Linked DNA regions of Homo sapiens: regions 1, 2 and 4 are each linked to region 3. The links are contacts of gene promoters, found by promoter capture Hi-C in human tissues and cell types (Jung and others, 2019). All regions are on one chromosome and are shown on one strand. Each heading gives the region's core, a stretch centred on a gene start or on the middle of the fragment in contact. The rest is flanking DNA. Distances are from core to core; before and after follow the strand shown. Region 1 overlaps SLC25A21 (solute carrier family 25 member 21). Region 2 overlaps LOC105370453 (a long non-coding RNA gene). Region 3 holds the start of PAX9 (paired box 9). Region 4 overlaps SLC25A21 (solute carrier family 25 member 21).

What was found. Contacts are between HindIII fragments. The study calls those that stand out against the background at their distance.
Region 1: a contact is called between a fragment that was not itself captured here and the fragment with the promoter of PAX9 in region 3, in 3 of the 25 tissues and cell types used here (H1 embryonic stem cells, pancreas and thymus).
Region 2: a contact is called between a fragment that was not itself captured here and the fragment with the promoter of PAX9 in region 3, in 1 of the 25 tissues and cell types used here (pancreas).
Region 4: a contact is called between a fragment that was not itself captured here and the fragment with the promoter of PAX9 in region 3, in 1 of the 25 tissues and cell types used here (small bowel).

Annotation. Positions count from the first base shown.
Region 1 is chr14:36,817,465-36,820,164 of GRCh38, reverse strand. All of the region lies in intron 2 of SLC25A21 (solute carrier family 25 member 21), which reads left to right. Among named protein-coding and RNA genes, the nearest start is that of MIR4503, 130 kb to the left of the region's middle. The HindIII fragment of the contact is 4,329 bases long and covers 1-2,700 here.
Region 2 is chr14:36,532,044-36,534,743 of GRCh38, reverse strand. All of the region lies in intron 1 of LOC105370453 (a long non-coding RNA gene), which reads right to left. It also overlaps the pseudogene PHKBP2. Among named protein-coding and RNA genes, the nearest start is that of NKX2-1, 13 kb to the right of the region's middle. The HindIII fragment of the contact is 3,563 bases long and covers 1-2,700 here.
Region 3 is chr14:36,660,591-36,663,290 of GRCh38, reverse strand. It overlaps PAX9 (paired box 9), which reads right to left and starts at 1,431. Exons shown (of 4, transcript NM_001372076.1): 1 at 1,198-1,431; 2 at 1-394. The coding sequence starts at 1,201. RefSeq lists enhancers at 1-451, 452-963, a cis regulatory region at 1,728-2,240 and a promoter at 1,500-2,697. The HindIII fragment of the contact is 9,466 bases long and covers 1,347-2,700 here.
Region 4 is chr14:36,877,652-36,880,406 of GRCh38, reverse strand. All of the region lies in intron 1 of SLC25A21 (solute carrier family 25 member 21), which reads left to right. Among named protein-coding and RNA genes, the nearest start is that of MIR4503, 73 kb to the left of the region's middle. The HindIII fragment of the contact is 6,338 bases long and covers 1-2,755 here.

The DNA of each region.
Region 1 (2,700 bases), core at 7-2,506, 160 kb before region 3:
GATGCCAGAAATGCTCTTTACCTATCTCACTGGTTTGCTTAGGGATTGGTGGCAGTGCCAAAGGGGTGGCTTGGAATGGCTTCCCACTGCCAGTCTCCATCAGTTCCCTCTCCCAAAGCACCCCAAATAATCATATGATCTAACTAAAAAGCAGAGTCGTGTGCTATGCAAATGTAGCCTCAGGACAAATCCTATCATCTACCCCAATCCAACCCTTTGCAATTCAATTACTGCATATTCATATAAAGATAGGAATATATAAGTTATATTAGGTTGGTGCAAAAGTAAGTGCGGTTTTGGCCATTAAAAGATTGGGTGTTAGGCACCATTAAAAGTAATGGCCAAAACCACGATTACTTTTGCACCAAATGTATAATATGTAAGTTATATATGTATATATACTATATATGCATATATAGTGTATAGTGTACAAATATATTTCTAAAGCCTCCACTCCCCAGAATAGACTCGTTCAGTATTTGTTAAGAAGATGATAGATGTAAAATTACTTTGGAAATAAAGGCACTGCATAAATTTGAGATTTTATAATTTTCAAACACCCTTGTCTTGAGACTTTTAAGGCAGCAAAGCCATTTTATTTCTTACAGGCATATCTTTCTTTTGGCCATATCTTCAGAAGTACTCAAACAAGTGGAAGTGGTATATCTATGCTGAGACTGAGTCACAGACTAGTTTAAAATAGAATATCACTGAGCACACAATGAAGACAGTGCGAAATGCTGCAGTCATGATTCTCAGCTAATTTAGAAAAAAAAAATGCTTCAATTAGTGCAAACATTTTTTGTCTTTAAAAAATATGCTTGTACATTTGTTTGGGAACATTGAAAAGCCCTTCCTTACCCTGTTGGCTACCACAGTAACTCACTCAGTATTGTGGCTGGTGAATGACAGGGCCTGTTTCCTCCCATTTGTTAAGTGTGTGCAGTCCTTTGGCTATGAGAACAGCGGCAGATAGGTATCTGGCTCCTTTGCAATGCAGCCTAGGGTTTGAGCCACATTCCTTTCTGTTGTGTGTGATTCTGATCGGATGTTAAGCACCAAATATGTCCCAAGTGTTACTTCATTGTCCACTCTGTCAGTGTGGCAGCAAGTTTCCATCCTAATAAAAGAAGTTACTCAGATGGATATTCCAGATGTATTTAAGCTGCTTTTATTAGGACAATGGAGAAGTCCAACCCTGTCTTCTAAATGCAATCAAGAGTGGTGTGGCTTTGCCTTTGTAATTTTACAAGGGGTTGTATTATGTAACTGGAAAATTGTCTCCCTAAGTAGAGAGAATTTGTTAGCAGAAAATGCAGCTTGGAACATGCTGATGTAAAGCTTCAATCCAAGAGAGAAACCTTTTAAGTTGCTGAAATGTAGAGCAGAGGAAGAAGGAAATTGCTGTTTTACATGATTGACCAAAATGCACTATAATTATATCAACTTGAAACAGATTCCTGAGAAGAACTGATAACTCTGTGATCAGAATAAGTCATGTGTAATGGAACAAAATACTGCAACCAAATACTGCAAGTACTTTCTCTGCAAAGCGTAGACATGATGTATGTGAGATACACAGTAGAAGAGACAACTGTTCTTGCCTTAGCCTGTGTAATGGGGCCTCTCACTGCTTTAGCATAGTTAAGAATGGAAGGGAGGCTTTACTGGGGCATTAGCAGTTACCATGCCTGCCCATCCTTTTGCATTGCTCATGCAACACAGTTTATGGACTCTGCTCCTGTGATGTTATTTTGATGTTGCCGCTCCTGGTTGTAATTAACTCAGCATCACTCATCAGACAGTCAGCTCCTAAGTGAAGCACTCCTCAAGGATTTCATGGACTGCCCTTTCTTGTTGCCTGTTCTAAAATCTGTGGGTAAAGTTTAATTGCAGATATGTAGCTCCAAGATAGTCTTTCTTTATTTCCCCTCTCCCTTTCCCTTCCATTGTCTCTGCAAAGTACTATTTCCCACCCATAAATAGCCGATCATCCCCAATAAGAGTGGTGCTAGCATCTGATACTCTGAAACACTATTTCTAAACAATAGTTTTTGTGTATGGTAATCATCTATTTGCACATCTCTTTCACTTTACTGAAAGCTTCTACAAGGCAGGGCTTTTTCTTATTTCTTTGTAAGCCCCCAAATAGTAGAGTGTATAATAAATAGTTGTATTCAAGAACTCTTATTAACTGAATGAACAATAGATTGGAAATATTATCTATTTGGTTCTACAAAGAGAAAAAGAAATTGCAACTAGTGAGTGAAGTGCCTAGACTTGTGAAATCATCATACTCTGTATACACGTTTGCACAAGCTGTCAGAAAACCCACCTGGGAATTACCTGAGCATGCAGACATCATAGGCAAAGCTGAGGTCTCTGACCACAGAAGGGAAGGAAAGGCTAAGGCTGAATATCTAGACATAGGACGTGCTTGCCTGGCCCATCTGCTGACTTGTTCACAGGCCCATCTGGAACCAGGGCCATGCAATTGTGCAATGGCCATCCTGAGGTAGCCGAAGTGCTGAGCTGAGCAGCAGAAAAGGTCAAGTGCTTTATACTGGGCTTTGACTTCAGCTCCTGTATACCTTCTACCAAACCACTTCAGGTCTCCATGCACCCTGAGCAACCAAGTGCCTGCAGCAAGCAGAGTACTGTAACATTTTCCCAAAGGAAACGGGGTAGGCGGCTGTGGTG
Region 2 (2,700 bases), core at 109-2,608, 130 kb after region 3:
ACCAGCCTTGGCAACATGGTGAGATTCCATCTATAAAAAAAAAAAAAATTAAATAAGAATCAAATGTCAAGGCAGTAAACTGAGTACAATGGTAGGAGTGTGGTATTCACGTCCAAAGTGACCTTGGAGGTTTCTGGAACAGAGACTTTCCAGGCCAACCATTAAGTTTAGCTTGTGATGCTTATGATTAGATTCACTAATTTGGCATTGCCAGCTCACTTGATGGAGTTATATCCTCTTTATCTAATTTCTTAAGGTCTATCTCAGTTTACGAGTCTCTTAAAATAATTAATCTTCCAAGATCTGATAATTAAACACTGTGTGGAATAAACTGGATCATTTTGAAATAACTGTCAACTCAACATTGCTGCAGTTTCAAAGTCCAACCACAGGTCTTTTTCCCATTAAATCATGTGATGCTGACCAGAATATCAAGATAAAGTACAACCTATACTGTGCTTCTAGGGCTTGGGCTTTAACTTTCACATAAAGGCTCATTAATGATGACCAGGAAGGACCCATGAGCCCAGCTTTAAAATGTATGAGAGTTGTTCCTTTCTGTTGCATGCATCAGGTTGATAAAGTCCACCAGTTTAAGCAGGACCCAGCTTAATACCTACTGAACTTTGCTTAACTTCTGTTGGAGGTTCTCCAGCCTCAACAAAATGGAAGACGTTGACTGAACAGGCATCAAATTGATAAGTCTTTTAATAGAACTTTCACTGAGTTCTGTGACCAAGCATGGCAGATTCTGCAGCAAACACTTAATAGTATCATGGTAACTAGGAATCAAATACCATAGCAACCAACCTGTGAGATACAATCATATATGAAGAGAATATAATTGGAGGAGTGTCTGGCTTCTATGAATTTCTTTCTCTTGTTTAAGATATGTTGGGAAATATTAACTAGCTAGTAATATATAGATACAGACAGATCGCTGTGGAGTTACTAATGGTTATATCCGTTATACTGAAAACAAAATTCTTAGTTGGACTTTCAAGACAAAAAGTAGATCTAGACAAACTGATGAAAGAAGCATTTCATGAATTTCAAAAATATGAGATTCAACTAAAGGAAGCTGAAAAACAAGGTGAGATGACTTACTTTAACAACAGTGTCCCCACTCCCCCAGAAAAAAGAGAAATCTATACAGCATATTTAACAAAGGTGTTGATTAATTTTCTGCTGGAAGGAGAAGCCAAGCCAAGCAATAATGATTTCTGTTTGGTTAGCTAGTGAAGCAAGTAGAAGAATCTCTTTTGAGGTATATTGTCTAGAAGTGTGTTAAGTTTTATTCTTGAAGCTTAACCAAGGCAGCCATAAATGATAGGACTGATCGTGCTTTTGAGGTATTTGCCACAACATTGGTGGAGTGATTGAATTTCTTCCACGCTATAACCAATCCAATGTTAAGAAATGCCTTTATTCAGAGGTAAAAATTTTGATGGCCATGCGAACAACAATAATAATATTCACTGAAAGATACAAATAATTTATAAATGTAAAATTCATCTCTGCATGTTTTTTTTCTTTTTTTGGGACAGAGTTTCACTCTTGTCATTCAGGCTAGAGTGCAATGGCGCCATCTCTGCTCACTGCAACCTCCGCCTCCTGAGTTCAAGCGATTCTCCTGCCTCAGCCTCCCGAGTAGCTGGGATTACAGACATGCACCATCATGCCCGGCTAATTTTTGTATTTTTAGTAGAGACAGGGTTTCGCCATGTTGGCCAGGCTGGTCTGGAACGCCTGACCTCAGGTGATCCGCCCGCCTCAGCCTCCCAAAGTGTTGGGATTACAGGAGTGAGCCACCGCGCCCGACCGATCTCTGCGTGTTTAATGATCTAATAGGGCATAAAATAAATTTGCTTTATGTTTCTGATCATTTGATATTGTCCCACAGATCACTGGGGCTGTTTTTGTTTTTAATTTTTATTCCTTCTGCTTCTCAGACTGGATAAATTCTATATTCAAGTTGGCTCTTCTGCTGTCGCCAATCTTCTTTCAGCTCATCCCAGAGATTTTTCTTTTCCATTTCAGACGCTATAGCTCTTTAGAGAATTTTCAATTCATTTTTAAAATAGCTTCCATTTCTCTGATAGAGTTCCCCAATTTGTTCAGTTATTGACATATTTTAATTTGTCTTCGAATATATATATATATATACCTCTTTAAATGTACTTTTCTGCTAATTCCAAACCTGGAGATTTGCTTCTATTGACTGCATTCTCTTCTGATTTTGGAAATTATCTTCTATGTCTTCACATGCCTAGTAATTTTTTATTTTAATCTGCCATTGTGAAAAATACATTTTAGAGTCTCTAGATTCCTCTGTTCTAGGAGTTCCCTACCTTAATCTTTCAGATATTCTTTCAGCCCCTGACTCCATCCTCTCACACTTCAAATAAAAAACACTGGATTTTTTCGCTCACCTTCTATTTGCCCTGTGCTCTGTGGTATGAGTATTGTCCTCAGTAGAATATCCTTGTAAGTTTAATTCTTACCCAGTGAGTAGTTCCATTTATGACTAGAAACTTCTTCAGTTTCTTTCTTCTTTTGACCACTTTCTGGTGCCTTCAAATAATTGTGTGTGTGTTTGTGTGTGTGTGTGTGTGTATTGTCCAGAGTTTATCATTATTATCTGAAAAAGGCATAGTCAGATAATGTACTTTTTATTACTGGACTCAGAACACCCATTCA
Region 3 (2,700 bases), core at 182-2,681:
TTGCCGATCTTGTTGCGCAGAATGCGGCTGATGGAGCTCACGGAGGGCACATTGTACTTGTCGCACACGCCGTCCGCCAGCAGGCGGTCCCGGATCTCCCAGGCGAAGATGCCGGGGTCTCTCTGCTTGTAGGTCCGGATGTGTTTCACCACGGTGGGGGTAGTGACCCGGGGCTTGCTGCCCCCGATGGCTCCTGGCAAGATCGAGCCCGTCTCGTTGTATCGCGCCAGGATCTTGCTGACGCAGCCGTGCGAGACCCGTAGCTGGCGGCTGATGTCACACGGTCGGATGCCCAGTTGGGCCAGTTCCACGATGCGAAGCCGGATGGCGTTGGGCAGCGGCCTCCCGTTCACGAACACTCCTCCCAGCTGGTTCACCTCCCCGAAGGCTGGCTCTGCAAAATGAACACACAGCGCGCAGGGACGCGCACCCGCTGCTTGGGACAGCTGCCTGCCACTGGGCCTCCCTACGCATCCGGGGACTGGGCGAACGCACCCGTCCCCTACTAACTACTGGGGCTGTCCCCAAACCATATGGTCCCTGAACATAGCCGAACGGCCCCAAACCGTCACTGTCCAATCGGACCCCCTCCCTCATTCCTGCCGTGCCGGAGGCCCCTACGGCCAAGTAAAGTGGTGAGATGCCGGGCCTCTCCGAGCGTTCAAAAGTCTCCCGAAGCAGGGGGAGAAATCGGTCTTGACGCCTGAACGTGCTCCTTCTCGCCTGCTCCTCACTAAAGTCCTTGAGCCGCTCCCTCTCTCCACCCATCCCATCCCCAGCGTTCCTTCTGGAGACCCGGCCAGTTAAACAAAGTCTAGGGGAAGCTAGAGGGTGTTTTATTTGTTGTTGTTTGTTTTCTTTTCTTTTCTTTTCCTGTTTTGTTTGCATGTGTGCGCGCGTGTGAAACAAAACTTGGTTTGCTACTCGGGCTGAGGGGCTCGCTGATGCCACAGCTCCCTTCTCTTAAAATCAGAAAATGGCATCAACAGCCACCCAGTAGCCAGCGTTCACATTGAACTGCTGTGCGCCGCTGACCCTTAGCGTGTTCCTACAACTTGTAGGAACACGAGCAAAGTCAATAGAGAATGTGAGCGCCTAGTGGCGCGCGCCCTCGCGCTCCCTCCCTCCCTCCCTCCCTTGCCCGCTCGCTCCCTCCCTCCCTTCCCGGCTCTGACAGAGTCCCCCGCCGCCACTCACCCATTGCTCCGAGCAGTACACCAACCCGGCCCCAGTTCCGCACTCCCAGACAGAAACTTTCCGCACCGCCTCAGTGGCCCGGCCTGTTGCTATCCCGGCCGACCGCCGGCGCCTCCGCTTCTTCCCAGGAGGAGGAGGCGAGAGGGCAAAAGGAAGAAGTAAAAGGAAGTCTGTGCCCCGATGAAAGAGGCTTGAGTTCTGCATTTCAATCTAAGCAGCAACGTGGGCTGGGCTGAGCAGGGCAGGGCGGCTCCGTCTATCACTCACTGGGGACACGCCCTAAAAGGGGCGGGTCCGAGGGCAAGCTGCATGGTGATTGGTGCGGGTCGGTGAGCGACAGCGCAGTCCAGGAAACTCCTTCCGCTGTCTCTTTCAGGCTAGCTCCCCACCTGGGTGACTAAATACAATGAAAATGGGTGTTTGACATCTTCCCAGAAGCGGCACAAAAAGACAGCAAAATCAGGCTGGTAAAATGCTGAATAAACAAATGAAAGCGTTTGGTCTGAATGTGAATGACTCGAAGGGAGAAGGGGCCCGAGGAGACCTCCTCCGGGGAACGATGGACATCTCAGAATTGAAGTTAAGGCTATAGGTGGGAGGCGGGCGCCACCGTGCACAGGGGTGAGGGAGTTGTCTTAGCAAAATCTGTCATGCGGGCCTCTGGGGACTGTCAGGAGAGGATCTGTGTCACCTGCCGATTCTACCTCACTTCAGTCCATGCCAGGTGGCGAGAGCGCAGGTGTGAGAAGATAGGCCGGCCAAAGAAACCAGGAGGTTGCGGGGAGCCCGAGCCACAGGTGGGGGCCACTGTTAAGGCCAGGGAGGTTCCTCCTACCGCCAGCTTCCTGCGGCGACCCCCCAGTCCAGGTGGACCGGCCAACCACTAGCCACACAGGCTCGAGGCACGGGCCACGCCGTGTGCGGGGAACTGAACCACAGGCGGCTAACGCTAGCGCACAGCCCCAAGTCGACCAATTGCCAGTGCGTGGGGCACTCACTACGGAGCCCAAGGCTCTGCCACATTCAGCCACTGTCCTGGGCCCCTGGCCCTCGGTGGCAGCGTTTGTGAGGGTTCTCCAAACCAGCGAGCCCTCTCGAAAGAGTTTTGTTTAAATATGAAAGAGACTTAGTCCCAAGACAGTGGACACCGACGCTGCACATGGATGTAATTCCCTCGTCTTCCATTAAGCTCCAGAGGCCCTGTCGTTCTGCCTACTTCTGAATTTTCACTTTTATTCACTGTAAGTCTAATCTAAAGTGTACCGTATGCTTTTTTGCAGCCAAAGTTATTAATATTTGCAGTTAGGGTTGTGGAGAATGTGAATCAAAATAATAAACAAGAAGAGAAATATTTTCGTGAATTTGGGAGTTTGTACTGCTTGGGGTCGTGAACTCTGTTACTGCTACTTGACAATCCAGAAGGCTCCTTGTGCACACAGGATTCAGGCTGCTTCCCCAACAGTCCCCAGGGATGTGTGTGGCTGCGGTCTACACCCAGAGAAG
Region 4 (2,755 bases), core at 218-2,717, 220 kb before region 3:
GAAGAAAACCCAAATCGCAGTAGTTTAAGGAAAATAGAAATTTTTCTCCAACATGAGTGTCTGGAGGTAGATAACCCAGAACTCCACTATGTCTGTCTTGTTGCTGTGCTGTGTGTGGCCTCTATGCCCAAAGTTACCTTGTTGTCTAACATGGCAGCCTGTGTCCATATTCCACTAGTAAGATGGGAGAAAGAGAAGACCAGGCTCCTTCTCTTTAAAAAACTTCCCAGATGTTGCTCAAACCACTTTCCCTTACATCCCTTTGGCCAGAACTTAGTCACATTGTGATGCTGAGCAGCAAAAGAAGCTGGGAAATGCAATATTTTTTCTGAGTGGCCAGGAAGAAGAGGGGATGCCTACTAAGAGAAAAATTAACCATCTTTGCCCCAGGATTTCTGGGAAAATGGTTGCCTAAATTGAGATCTGAAGGTTAGTAGGATTCTCAGAAGTATATGTACATGTGTCCTTACGGAAGAAAAACATTCCTGAGTAAAGAAAAAGTTCTAGGAATTGAACACTGAGAAGAAACTGGTCTCTCACCAATCATGATTAATCATTGTGTGACAATGTTTGTACTTTTTTTTTTTTGGAAAAGAGTGTGGTGCAGGTTATTTCAGAGGAAGGTGGGGGTGGTGTTAATGATCAGTCAAGTTTTGTGGTTGAACAGGCTGCCCAGGGGATCTTCTCAGAAAAGATGAAGTCTGGGAGAAGGGTTTATGACATGGTGGTGTTAATTTTTTCCCAATATTGGCTCAGGCGAAGGCATGTACTTGAGGCAGTTCAAGGGCCAGGGCATCCAGGGGCTATCCCAAGGTAAAAGTTCAGGGGATAACCCATGCATTTTTGTGCCTGTGGTAGGGTCAAATTACCAGTTTCATTCAAATCTTAGAGATATAGTCATGCTCACTAACATGACATGAATCTGCAGAAACAATGAAAACATTTACAATATATTAAATTTACAGTATCAGTCTGCTTTGGGGCTTTTCTAATTTTTATAATGTTCAGCCTTATAAAATCAGTATTTTGTCTAGTTTAAACAAATCTAATAGTAATTCTTGTTTACTTGTTATTGTGATAAATCAGCAGTTGCCTGAAATAAAAATAACATATGGAACATTTTTAGCTTTCTGAAATGTAGTATGTTATTTGAGAAAATATGTGTTTTATGTTTTTCTAATTATTTTCATACTGTCATGTGGTTATGTTTTGATTCTGCTTTTTATTCCCAAAATGAATGGAAGTTACAAATAGTCCAGCCCATTTAAAATTAAGCATGACTTGAAGACATTTTATCTCTAAAATGACTTTTTTCTGGTTTTAAGATCAAACACCAAATTTAAATGTAAAATCAGCTAGAGAGTCTAAGAAAAGCACTGATCTAAATTTATATTTAAGTTCTTATGTATTTTTTTCATATTCCTTCTCAAATACTATGAAGTTGTAACTTTTTTCCCCAGAGAAGGTGTTACTATGGTTGGTGGTTGGCAGTACAATTTTTATATCATGAATGAGTAGGGGAGATTGAATCATTTAATTCCTCTGTGGCTGGTGAGTGTAATAAATGCCAGGTTGGTAAAAGCAATACTTCTAGGTCTTATTTGTCTTGATATCAGAGTGTCTTAAAATCGCAATTAGGATGGATTATTAAATGGAAGCTGATATTTCAGAGTCATCTTCTTTTCTATGTTAGATTTTTAATTTTATGAGAATAGAGAAATTATTAAAATTTGTGCTCACTAGCTCATTATTTAGTTTGTGCCTTCATAGTAGGTCATAGAATTGTCAATAAGCACATGGTACCACTCAGTTTCTTGAGGTCACTTCTAGGCCTATGTAACACGATTAATCTGATTCTATTTATATGGTTATCTTCATAAATAATAATCAGGGTCTCACAGTCTTTAGCTGTCTGTGGAGGACAGCAAGCATCCATTCCCACTCTGAGTGAATCCAGATTTAACTCTGAACTCTGATTAAAGTCACAGCTTCCATATAATTTCCAACATTTCTGTTCTCTCTGCCTGTAATGCATTTTATCACTAACTTAAATTCTACAAATTACTTGTTTTGACTAAAAATAACAGTGAATAAATAATCACATAGAGATCCTGGACCAAATATGTTATATTTGACCATTTAGGTCCCATTTTCCTTTTGGCCATGTCACAGTTTTGCAGGTAGTTTCATAGATGGCCATTGACTCTCAAATCTAGAGGTGCATGGGACACCAAGACATCTATGCTATGATGAGAGAAGGTGTTTTTACTGGTAAACTGTTTACCAATGGAGAGAGGGCTGGGACATCAGTGCTGTTGTACTTGCAAGTGAATAACTGTGATTGGGAGCACTGCGGGGATTAAATGGAGAAGATGATTAGATTATTGGGAGAGCACATTAGCAGAGGTCAATACCACTCCTCTGCTTACAACTCCTCGAAATGTCTTCAATAAACATGGAGTACATTGGTAATAAGAAAAAACAACCAAGAGCTATTAAAAAAAGAAAATCCTTCACTGGCTCCTCGTGGCCTATGGGATAAAGTGGAAGTGACTAAACATGAACTTGAGCCTCACCTGCACACTTCCAGCCTCATCTCTTGCCATACCCTGCCTTCAACCCTAGGCTGCTGTAATGCTCAAGTGCTTCTTGCCTCTTTTCTTCTTTTTTCTGTGCAATATCTTTCCTCCATGCCTCATGCTCATGCTGTCCTCTGTCTGCCTTGAATCCCTTCCCTACCCCTCACCTGCTCCCA